2 separate regions of the Homo sapiens genome follow, and region 2 is linked to region 1. The links are contacts of gene promoters, found by promoter capture Hi-C in blood cells and fetal thymus (Javierre and others, 2016). All regions are on one chromosome and are shown on one strand. The core of a region is centred on a gene start or on the middle of the fragment in contact, and the rest is flanking DNA. Distances in the headings are between cores, read along the strand shown. Region 1 holds the start of PLCE1-AS1 (PLCE1 antisense RNA 1). Region 2 has its middle 61 kb from the start of LGI1.

Region 1 (4,314 bases), core at 634-3,133:
AGGGACCTACACCCAGCTAGCCCAAAGCTGTCCAAGGCAGCAGGGTTCTACTTTTGTCATTCAAATGGCTTGTTAGCAAACCACTGTTTGATGAACAAAGCTTGTCTCTCAGTGCTGAGAAAATGACAGTGTGTGTCCAGGGAATGGACTGACACTTGCAAGGCTCTCCCCATGTGGCTCCTTCAGTGTAGGAATAAAAATGAGCCCTGGAAGTCACAGAATCTTCCGGACGAGCCTCACCATGGAATCCCTGGGCACCTGCTCTGTGGACTGTGTGGTGGATCCAAAGGAGAATGAGGCAAAATCCCCCTCAGAATCAGACTTCCAGATCATCTGGCTCTACCTGCTCCTGAATTGCCTGCCTTAGAAACCCAGGGACCAGGACCTCCCAGTGCCTTCCAAATGTAAATCCCTGGTAGAGAGGCCTGAGACTGGGTATGTTAATCAAGTGGCCTGGGTGATTCTGGAGATTTCAGCAAGTGTAGTAAACAAGGATTCTAGTCAACTCCACTTTTGAGTGAGAAAGGCTCAGAGAGATTTGCCTTGGCCAAATCACAAAGCATGGTAGCCAAGAGCCCAGGTCTCTGACCCACGATCTTATCTGATGATCTTGTCACCACTGAATAATTTTTGTCTTACAGGGTTGTAATCTTTTAAGCTATGGGTATGTCAAGGCATACAGAGCAGCGTAATGGACATTGGAGACTCAGAATGAGAGTGGGAGGGAGGTGAGGGATGAAAAACTACCTGGTGGGTATGACTTACACGACTTGGGTGACAGGTGCGCTAAAATCCCAGACTTCATCACTATACAATTCATCCATGTAACCAAAAACTACTTGTACCACTAAAGCTGTCAAAATAAAAAAATTCAAAATAAAAGAACAAGGTTGCACTCCTAACTGTGGAACAACTGGGTATCTAGGAGGTACCCAAACATATGCCTATAAATGAAGGAGCTCCAGAAAGGAGATGTCACAATGAGTTGAAGAGTCTCAGATACTTTCCAAGGACCCCGTCCTTGGAATTTGGAATGGGGCCAAGGGGAGAAGGAAGGCCAGGCAAGGTTGAGAACACTCTGAGCAATGGCCTGGCACTAGAAAGACGGCAGTGTATGTAGGTGCCTGAGGAGAGTGGGGGATGCAGGGGAGCTTGTGGGAAGATATTGGAAACTAGGTTGATGGGGTCATAAAATAAAAATACCATATCCTTTTTTTTTTCTATTAGAAGGAGAAAAAAACCCAGGACAATAGAAGTACTAAATGCAACCGAGAAATAAACCCTAAGAGAAAGCAGGTCGAAAAAATTCAACTACTTCCATAGTGTGGTGCAAAGAGCCCACCCCTGGGAGCTGACAGGAATTCTGGCTCTTGCCCTGCCACTGACCTAGCTTCTGATGGTGGGGAAGTTCCTTCCTTTCTGTGGGCCTCATACCACATGATTGTTGAGTGCCTCATTGCAATGAAGGGTTTTTTTTTTTTTTTTGCATATGGCTTGTAAGAAGGGACTTGGGATGATGAAAGGTGACATACACTGAAATTGATAATGTAGCAAAATTAAAATAAACGGCATAGCAAAATGAACAGTTTATAGTATTTTCCTCATGTGCATCAAACAAATGATTGTAAAAAGAAATATTTAGAAGGTATTATAACAATCATTCTGGCAATCCAATTTAGCTATTTTGAGACAGGAAATAAAATCAGGGAAAAAATGTAAGAAATTTCATTTTTCTAAAGAGAAAATACACTATACCTATGAAGAAATGTATGCTATGTGAACACTTTTAAAAAACAACATACTTGGAATTTTTAAAATAAGCCGAACAACCACATGCTTAGAAGCTCTATCACATGACCTCCTGATCTTCCACGATTCTCTACTGGTACAGAGACTTTATCTTTCACACAGACTTCAAATATCTTTGGGAATTTGTGCTCCTTATTTACTGAGTGCTTGAGAAGAAAAGACAAAGCCAGTGGAATGGTCCGAGTGTGGCATCCGCTGCATTTATAAAGAATAAGAGCTGCAGTGGGTGTGATTCTTGGACAGAGTGGCGCTCATCCTTGTTCCTGCAATGAAGGACATGCCAGCCTCCAGGCTCTTTGACAGGTAAAGGGTTTTACTCCATCAGAAAAAGAGTTTTGCCAGTTGCAAATAATGGTCATATTGTACTTATATGCCATGAGGTCATGGTCTGTGAAATTAAACTTAAATGGCCAGGTTCCTGCATTTCTCTGAAATCTTTGCTGGCTACTTATTGATTCATATCCTCCTCAACAGGATTTGCTAGCAGACAAGCAGTAGCAGCTGCCAAAAGTTTAAAAACAGCTTATAGGAGAAAACTTACAATTAAAATGATTTTAATATCATGAAATATATGATTTTTATCATATCATTAAATAATATGATTTTTTTTACTCTGATGTGTGAAAAGCTCACTATTACCTAACTGTGATTTTAAAAATTTAATTATTATTTTTTAGAGATGAGGTCTTGCTATATATCTTGCCCAGGCTGGGCTTGAACTCCTAGACTCAAGCATTTCTCCTGCTCAGCCTCCCTGGTAGCTGGGATTACAGGCACGCACCACTACACCCAGTTTGCCTAATTTTTAAATAGCCCAATGCCTCTGGCCCATTTGTCAGGCACTGTGTGAGACCAGGTGCTTAAGATATGCTCTGGGAGGGACCTGAGTTCAGCCCATCTTGAAAAGATGAGGGCATTTTAGTGCCTCTCTCCAGGCCAAGTCTATAAATCCTGTTTACTAACATTTAGACTGATCCTCCTATCTCAGCCACTTTCCTGTTCTCAGAAATTATATTCAAGAGAATCCTTTTTCTTAGTATGAGGAGATGAATTTTTCTGAGTTCCATGTACTTAGGGACTTTCTTGTTTGTCTTCTACCCCCTGGTGCCCCATTTGTGGGACACATAATTGAGTACCTCATTGAAAACAGCCCGAAACAAGAGAGGCCAGGCAGTATAACGGGTAAGGGCAGGACTTTGGAGACAGACAGGCTTCAGAGCCATAGGTCTACCATTCATTAATTGAAAAGGACACTGTTTTTGGAAAGTGGTTCATCAGCCTGTCCACTGTACTTCTAAAAACGGTCAATTGGGGGAAATCTCTCCTTCCACTTCAACGCCATCCTTGGTCCTTGTGGTTTGGGTGGGGCCTTGCTACCCAGCTCAGAGTGGAGAATGTGACATGGGATCCAGACCATCAGAGCACTGCATCTCCTGGCCACAGTGATTGGTAAAGGACCCAATGAGAAACAATGACACTTCTGCGGGAAGTTCTGGAAGAGACTCTTACACTGAAGCTGAAACTGGAAGCATGTAGTGCTGGCCTGCTGTAGCCGTCTCGCAACCAGAAGGGAATAAAGGGGAGAAAGCCAACATGATGGAGGCGGAATGAGAAATGAGGAAAGAGAAAGCATGTACCTTGGTTAAGCTATACCTGAAACCTGTGTGTCTTCATTTTTAAGCACATGAGTCAATAAAGTTCCCTTTACTTAGGTCAATTTCTGCCACTTTCAAACAAAAGAATCTTGACTGATATACTCTGAAACTTGGGGCAAATTACTTCATCCCTCTCAGACTTTATTTTAAAATGGAGATAATACCGCCTACCTTGTAGAATCATTATGAACGGTAAAGGAGATGTACGTAAAATAGCACAAATCCTAGTACTTAAGTATTTAATACATTTAGCAATTAGAAATTATGAGTATTATAACTTTTATAATTATTAACTATTATAAAAAGACATTGTGTGACCTGAAAAATGAATACTTTATGGTATTTTTCTTCATGAGCATCAAGGCAAATTATAATAATAAAGATATTTAGGAGGTATTATAACAATGATTTCAGCAACACAATTTAGTTATTTTGAGAGTGTTCACAATGCCCAATTAAATAAATGGCATATTTTTAACCTTTGATATCTTTAAAAGTTATAGATGATATTGCCTAATCTTACCTGGAAATTTTACTGCTTGACAATAGATTACAAGGTCAGAAAGCTCTGGTGCAATCTGTCTGCTTTCCTTTTTATTCTGATCAAGATAAAATTCTTCTCCCAGTTCCATATCATAAACCTGGTAAGGGAAAAATGATACCATTTTACATGGAAGGTATATGCTACTCACCTCTGGATTCCCAAAGCTCTTTTATCTGTCCTCCTCTGGTGTTATTACTGTATTTCCCCTTGCATGGTAATTATCCATATACATGTCCCAACAGCTTTCCTAGAGTAAAAGCTTTCTGAGGGCAGGAGGTGAGTCTAATTCATCCTCCATCTTCCCTC
Region 2 (4,590 bases), core at 1,061-3,560, 470 kb after region 1:
ACTCATTCCTGGGCATAGGACAAGCTAACATATTCTTACTTTTAACCAAATTAAAATTTATAGTTTAACTTGGAAGCAAGGATGATAATAGTTTCTCCCTGAAACGAATCCTCTCCTTGTTGGGGCCAGGGGGCGGGCTGAAACTACTTTCATAAGACTAATGAAAGGCCATAAGATTAGGATTATGGGAGGGCCCTGAATTCTGCTAAAATGTCGGTATAGTTTTTATGATCCCTTACTTCTCAGGAATCGTGTGGCCAGAGGTCACAAGATTTATGACTTCCCTAATTGCTCATATAGATAATATCACTATTGTAGAACTTAAGATTGGTCTTTTGAGATGTTTTTCAGACTGATGCCACCCAGACTCATGACTCATAACTCAACTATTTCTGTGCCCTCCTCTCCCACCAAGAGGTGGACTCAGTGCACAGATGGTGACCATTTTCCACACCCCTATGATTGCATTGCCAACCAATCAGCAGCACCCATTCTCTATCCCCTGCCCACCAAACTATCCTTGAAAAACCCTAACCCGTGAGCCTTTGGGGAGACTGATTTGAGTACTAACTCTATTTCCCCTGTGGCCAGCCTCACATCAATTAAACTACTGCAATACCATGGTCTCGGTGAATTGGTTTTGTCTGTGCAGAGGATGGGACGAACTCATCAGGCGATTACAGAGTTGTTGTAAAGATTATTTTAAGCTGAAGACATTTGAGACTCAACAGATGCAGAAAAAGACTTTCTTGGAGCTTTCCTAATCTGATGAAACACAGCAACTTTGGGAAATGAGACTACCATAAATCCCTTCTCCTAGGGAGAGTCCTAGCTGTGAAGAAGAGAGAAAGGCCACTAGCACCTATGTAAATAAAATGTCACAAACTTTCTTATCTCCCATTTATTCTCATAAAAATCCAATTGTCTTTCCTAAGGAAACCTATTTGTTCTTCTCATAGGAGCCTTTTCTCCTTTTTCCTTCCCCTACTATGTTAGGTACATAAGCCCTGAATTCTAACAGTGAGCACAATCACTGAGTGCATCACTGAGCACTCCTGTGTGTATGCACATTGCATGCTTAAATCAACTCTTCTTTTCTCTTGTCAATCTATCTTTTGATGGTTTAGATTCGTAGGCCCCCAGGCACTGACTCTGTGAAGGTAAAGTGTTTCCTCTCCAGCACCAGGAATAGCACTGATATGGTTTGGCTCCATGTCTCACCCAAATCTTATGTCAAATTGCAATCCTCACATGTCAGGGGAGGAGACTGGTGGGAGGTGATTGGATCACGGAGGTGGATTTCCCCCTTGCTGTTCTTGTGATAACGAATGAGTTCTCATGAGATCCGATGGTTTAAAAGTGTGTGGCACTTTCCCCCTCATTCTGTCTCTCCTTCTACTCTGCCTTGCTAAGATATGCTTCTCCTTCACCTTCTGCCATGATTGTAAGTTTCCTGAGGCCCCCTGGCCATGTGAAACTGTAGAGCCTGTTGAACCGTGAGTCAATTAAACTCCTTTTCTTCATAAATAACCAAGTCTCAAATAGTTCTTTCTAGCAGTGTGAGAATGGACTAATATAGGACTCTGCTTTGGACACTGACCCTGAGCAAGTGGTGTATTTCTGCCACTGTTCTAGATGTACGGATGAAGTTCTGTCATCCACTGTTCTTGGGTAGCTCCCCACTACCAAGGGCTACATTCAGTCCTTCCTCTGGACTCCAGTCTTGTTTGCCTAGTTCCAGTCTCACTGTTTGTCCCTGTGGTTTTATACTTTGCTTATTGTTTAAGTTTTACTCCTTTTTTGAGCCAGTGACATTTTCCTCTTGCATTTTTAGAGAAGCATAGAAATATGTATTTAATATCTAACCTGTCATTCCTATGGACTTGGAGCACAGGAAAGAGGATTATGAATGCATTTGCTCTGATATCTTTATTAAGAAGTTTTCAGGCCTTTTAAAAGTGAGGATGCCAGTATTTATCTGAACTCAAAACAATGGTTCTTGATCCAGTAATTCTGTTTCTGGAACTCTTCCTAGAGGAAGTAATCCAAAAAATGGGGGAAAAAAGCTTCATACACAAAGATGTTCATGGCTGTATTACTTTCTATGGTAAAGATCTGAATATATTATAAATATTTCCCAACAATAAATAAATATTAATATTTCCATTTAATATAATATTATGCAGCTACTAAAATAATACTTTACAAAGAATATATGATATAAAAATGCTTATTATAATACAAGGGAGAAAATTTGTAGCCATTTTTTGTTGTTTTATACAAGCATGCATTAAAAAATAGCATAGAAAGACTAATAAAAAGAAACCACATCAGTGCTAAAAACGGTTGTCTCTTAGTTTTTCTTTATTTTCAAAATTGTGTGTTATGTATATGAATCGCTTTTATAATAGGAAGATACCTAAATAAATATATTAACAAAAAGCTGAATGATAGAAGGACATTTTAAGACAGGCATCTTTCATGATTATAGAGAATGGATTGGCATACTACAAAACGATTGCTTCTAAAACACACAAACAGCAGAGGAAGCTTTTGTGTTAGAAGATTATTGGTTGTGATTAGATGGGTTTTCAGCATCAGGGCACAAGAAGCACCAGTTTGGTGACATCGAGCAAGGAGGCAGGGCTACAAGGGACTGGCAGATGGCAAGAACCTACACTCTGCAGGCAAATGGCCAGGCGCCAGGATCAGATGAGGGAAAGGGCAAGCTAGGAGACTGCGCCAGGGGAGCCAGTGGTAGGGGCCGGACAGGAGCCAACACTTATTGAGGGGTTGCTGAGTTTGTGCCAGGCACTGTTTTGGATCCTGAAATACAGGTGGAGAAGACTGACACAGTTCTTGCCTTCATGAAACTTACAGTCCATGGCAGGGGTTTCAAGCTGTTTTTTTTTTTTTGGAAAGGGCTAGACAGTAAGCATCTTAGGTTTTGTGAAGCTATACAATCTGTGTTACAATTACTCAGTTCTGCCACTGTAGCTTAGTAAAAGCAGCCACAGACAACAGTAAATGGATGGGTGTGGCTAGGTACCAATGAAACTTTGTTTATAAAAATAAGTGGTGGCTAGACTTGGATGGTGGCATAGTTTGCCACCTCCTGATCTAAGTGGAAGACAGACAGTAAACAAGTAAACAAGTTAATATGATAATTATGGTTTGTGATCATTGTCAGGAAGGAAATCAAAAGGGTGATCTAGTAGTGAATTAGTAATACATTACATTTTACCTTTTACCGAGATGTGACATCCATACAATAAGGTGCACAAATTCCAGGATATAGAATATTCTTAACACCTTAGAACTGGGTCCTGAAGCATTAGAATGACCTCTCCATCCAAAGAACTGGGCATGGGGAAGCATTCCAGGCAGAAGGGAAAACAAGTACAAGAGTCTGAGGCAGAAAAAGGTTTCGCATCTTCCATGAACAGAAAGGGTTTTCATGGGGCTAGATAGCAGTGAGCAGGGAATAGGGTGGGATGCTGTGGGTAGAGGAAAACCCCACAGACTTTAGAGGCCATTGTGGACATTCTGTATCTTATTCTAAATGTTATAGGAGAGCAATGGAGGGTTTTAAGCAGAATGGCATGATCTGATTGAAGTTTCAAGATGATAAGTGAACTGCTGTCTTCTTTCTGGACTTTTCTGTAGTAGTGTTCAGTTAGGACGGGGAACTGGGGCTAGGGGCTGGGGGCTGGGAGCATCCAGCCTCAGCTGGAGCTGAGATGGGCTGTGTGAGGAAAATCCATTAAAGAACACCATTACCATACACCACATACTGAACCATAAACATCGATTTATTTTGTAAAACACCTCTTTGAAATATTACTGTAACTAGATTTATTGGCACCTGTTTCCGAGCACTTAATTAGGAGATACTTTAAGAACTGTGCATCAAAGACAAGAACCTGAAGAAAATGCAAGCAGGGGGTTAAGAGGTGAGGTGAGCTGGCAGGTACAGATCTAGCAGCAGCAAGTCATGCTGCCGAGGTGGAGGCTCACGGGAGGCAGGAGGAGGGGGTCAGAATATATCTTTAGTGTCCAGGAAGAGACCCCGGTGGTTTTTGGAACCAGAGAGTTGAGGTTTGCTTTCATTGGTGTGGCTTGGTTCTGATTTAATGTTTTGAAGACATATTGTAGGGAATAGTTACAAAGTGTCCCTAGGATGGTGAAAAGAGGCGGGTGGTGAGGGGGCAAGAAGGAATGGAGTTTTGTAAATGGAGAATTAGAGGAAATGATAATTTGGGGCCAAGAGCCTTCCTCCTTCTCTCCCTACCTGCCTCTCTTCTTTTCTCCTTCCTTCCCTTTCATTTATTTACTTACTTATTTATTTATTTACTATCTACCTTGGTTGAATGTCATCTCCTTTCTTTTTTAAAAATGCAGAGGCGAGAGACCAAGAGGAAGAAATTGAATCAGTATGTACTGCCTTACTAAGGTTGTCATGAAGCAAGCGCAAACTAAAATATTGTTCATGTTTGTCTGACATTCAAATTTAACAGAGCACCCTGTATTTTTATGTGCTAAATCTGGCCATCCGTCTATGCCTGTGGCTTGGATTTTGCCATTTCAGCG

The links. Contacts are between HindIII fragments. The CHiCAGO score rates a contact against its expected background, and 5 or more counts as called.
Region 2: a fragment that was not itself captured here is called in contact with the fragment with the promoter of PLCE1-AS1 in region 1 in 1 of 17 cell types (megakaryocytes); the score reaches 5.8 in megakaryocytes.

The regions. Positions count from the first base shown.
Region 1 is chr10:94,284,639-94,288,952 of GRCh38, reverse strand. PLCE1-AS1 (PLCE1 antisense RNA 1) reads left to right here and starts at 1,883. Exons shown (of 4, transcript NR_033969.1): 1 at 1,883-2,112. It overlaps PLCE1 (phospholipase C epsilon 1), which reads right to left. Exons shown (of 33, transcript NM_016341.4): 22 at 3,988-4,105. The HindIII fragment of the contact is 4,167 bases long and covers 103-4,269 here.
Region 2 is chr10:93,816,404-93,820,993 of GRCh38, reverse strand. No RefSeq gene overlaps it. Among named protein-coding and RNA genes, the nearest start is that of LGI1, 61 kb to the right of the region's middle. The HindIII fragment of the contact is 484 bases long and covers 2,069-2,552 here.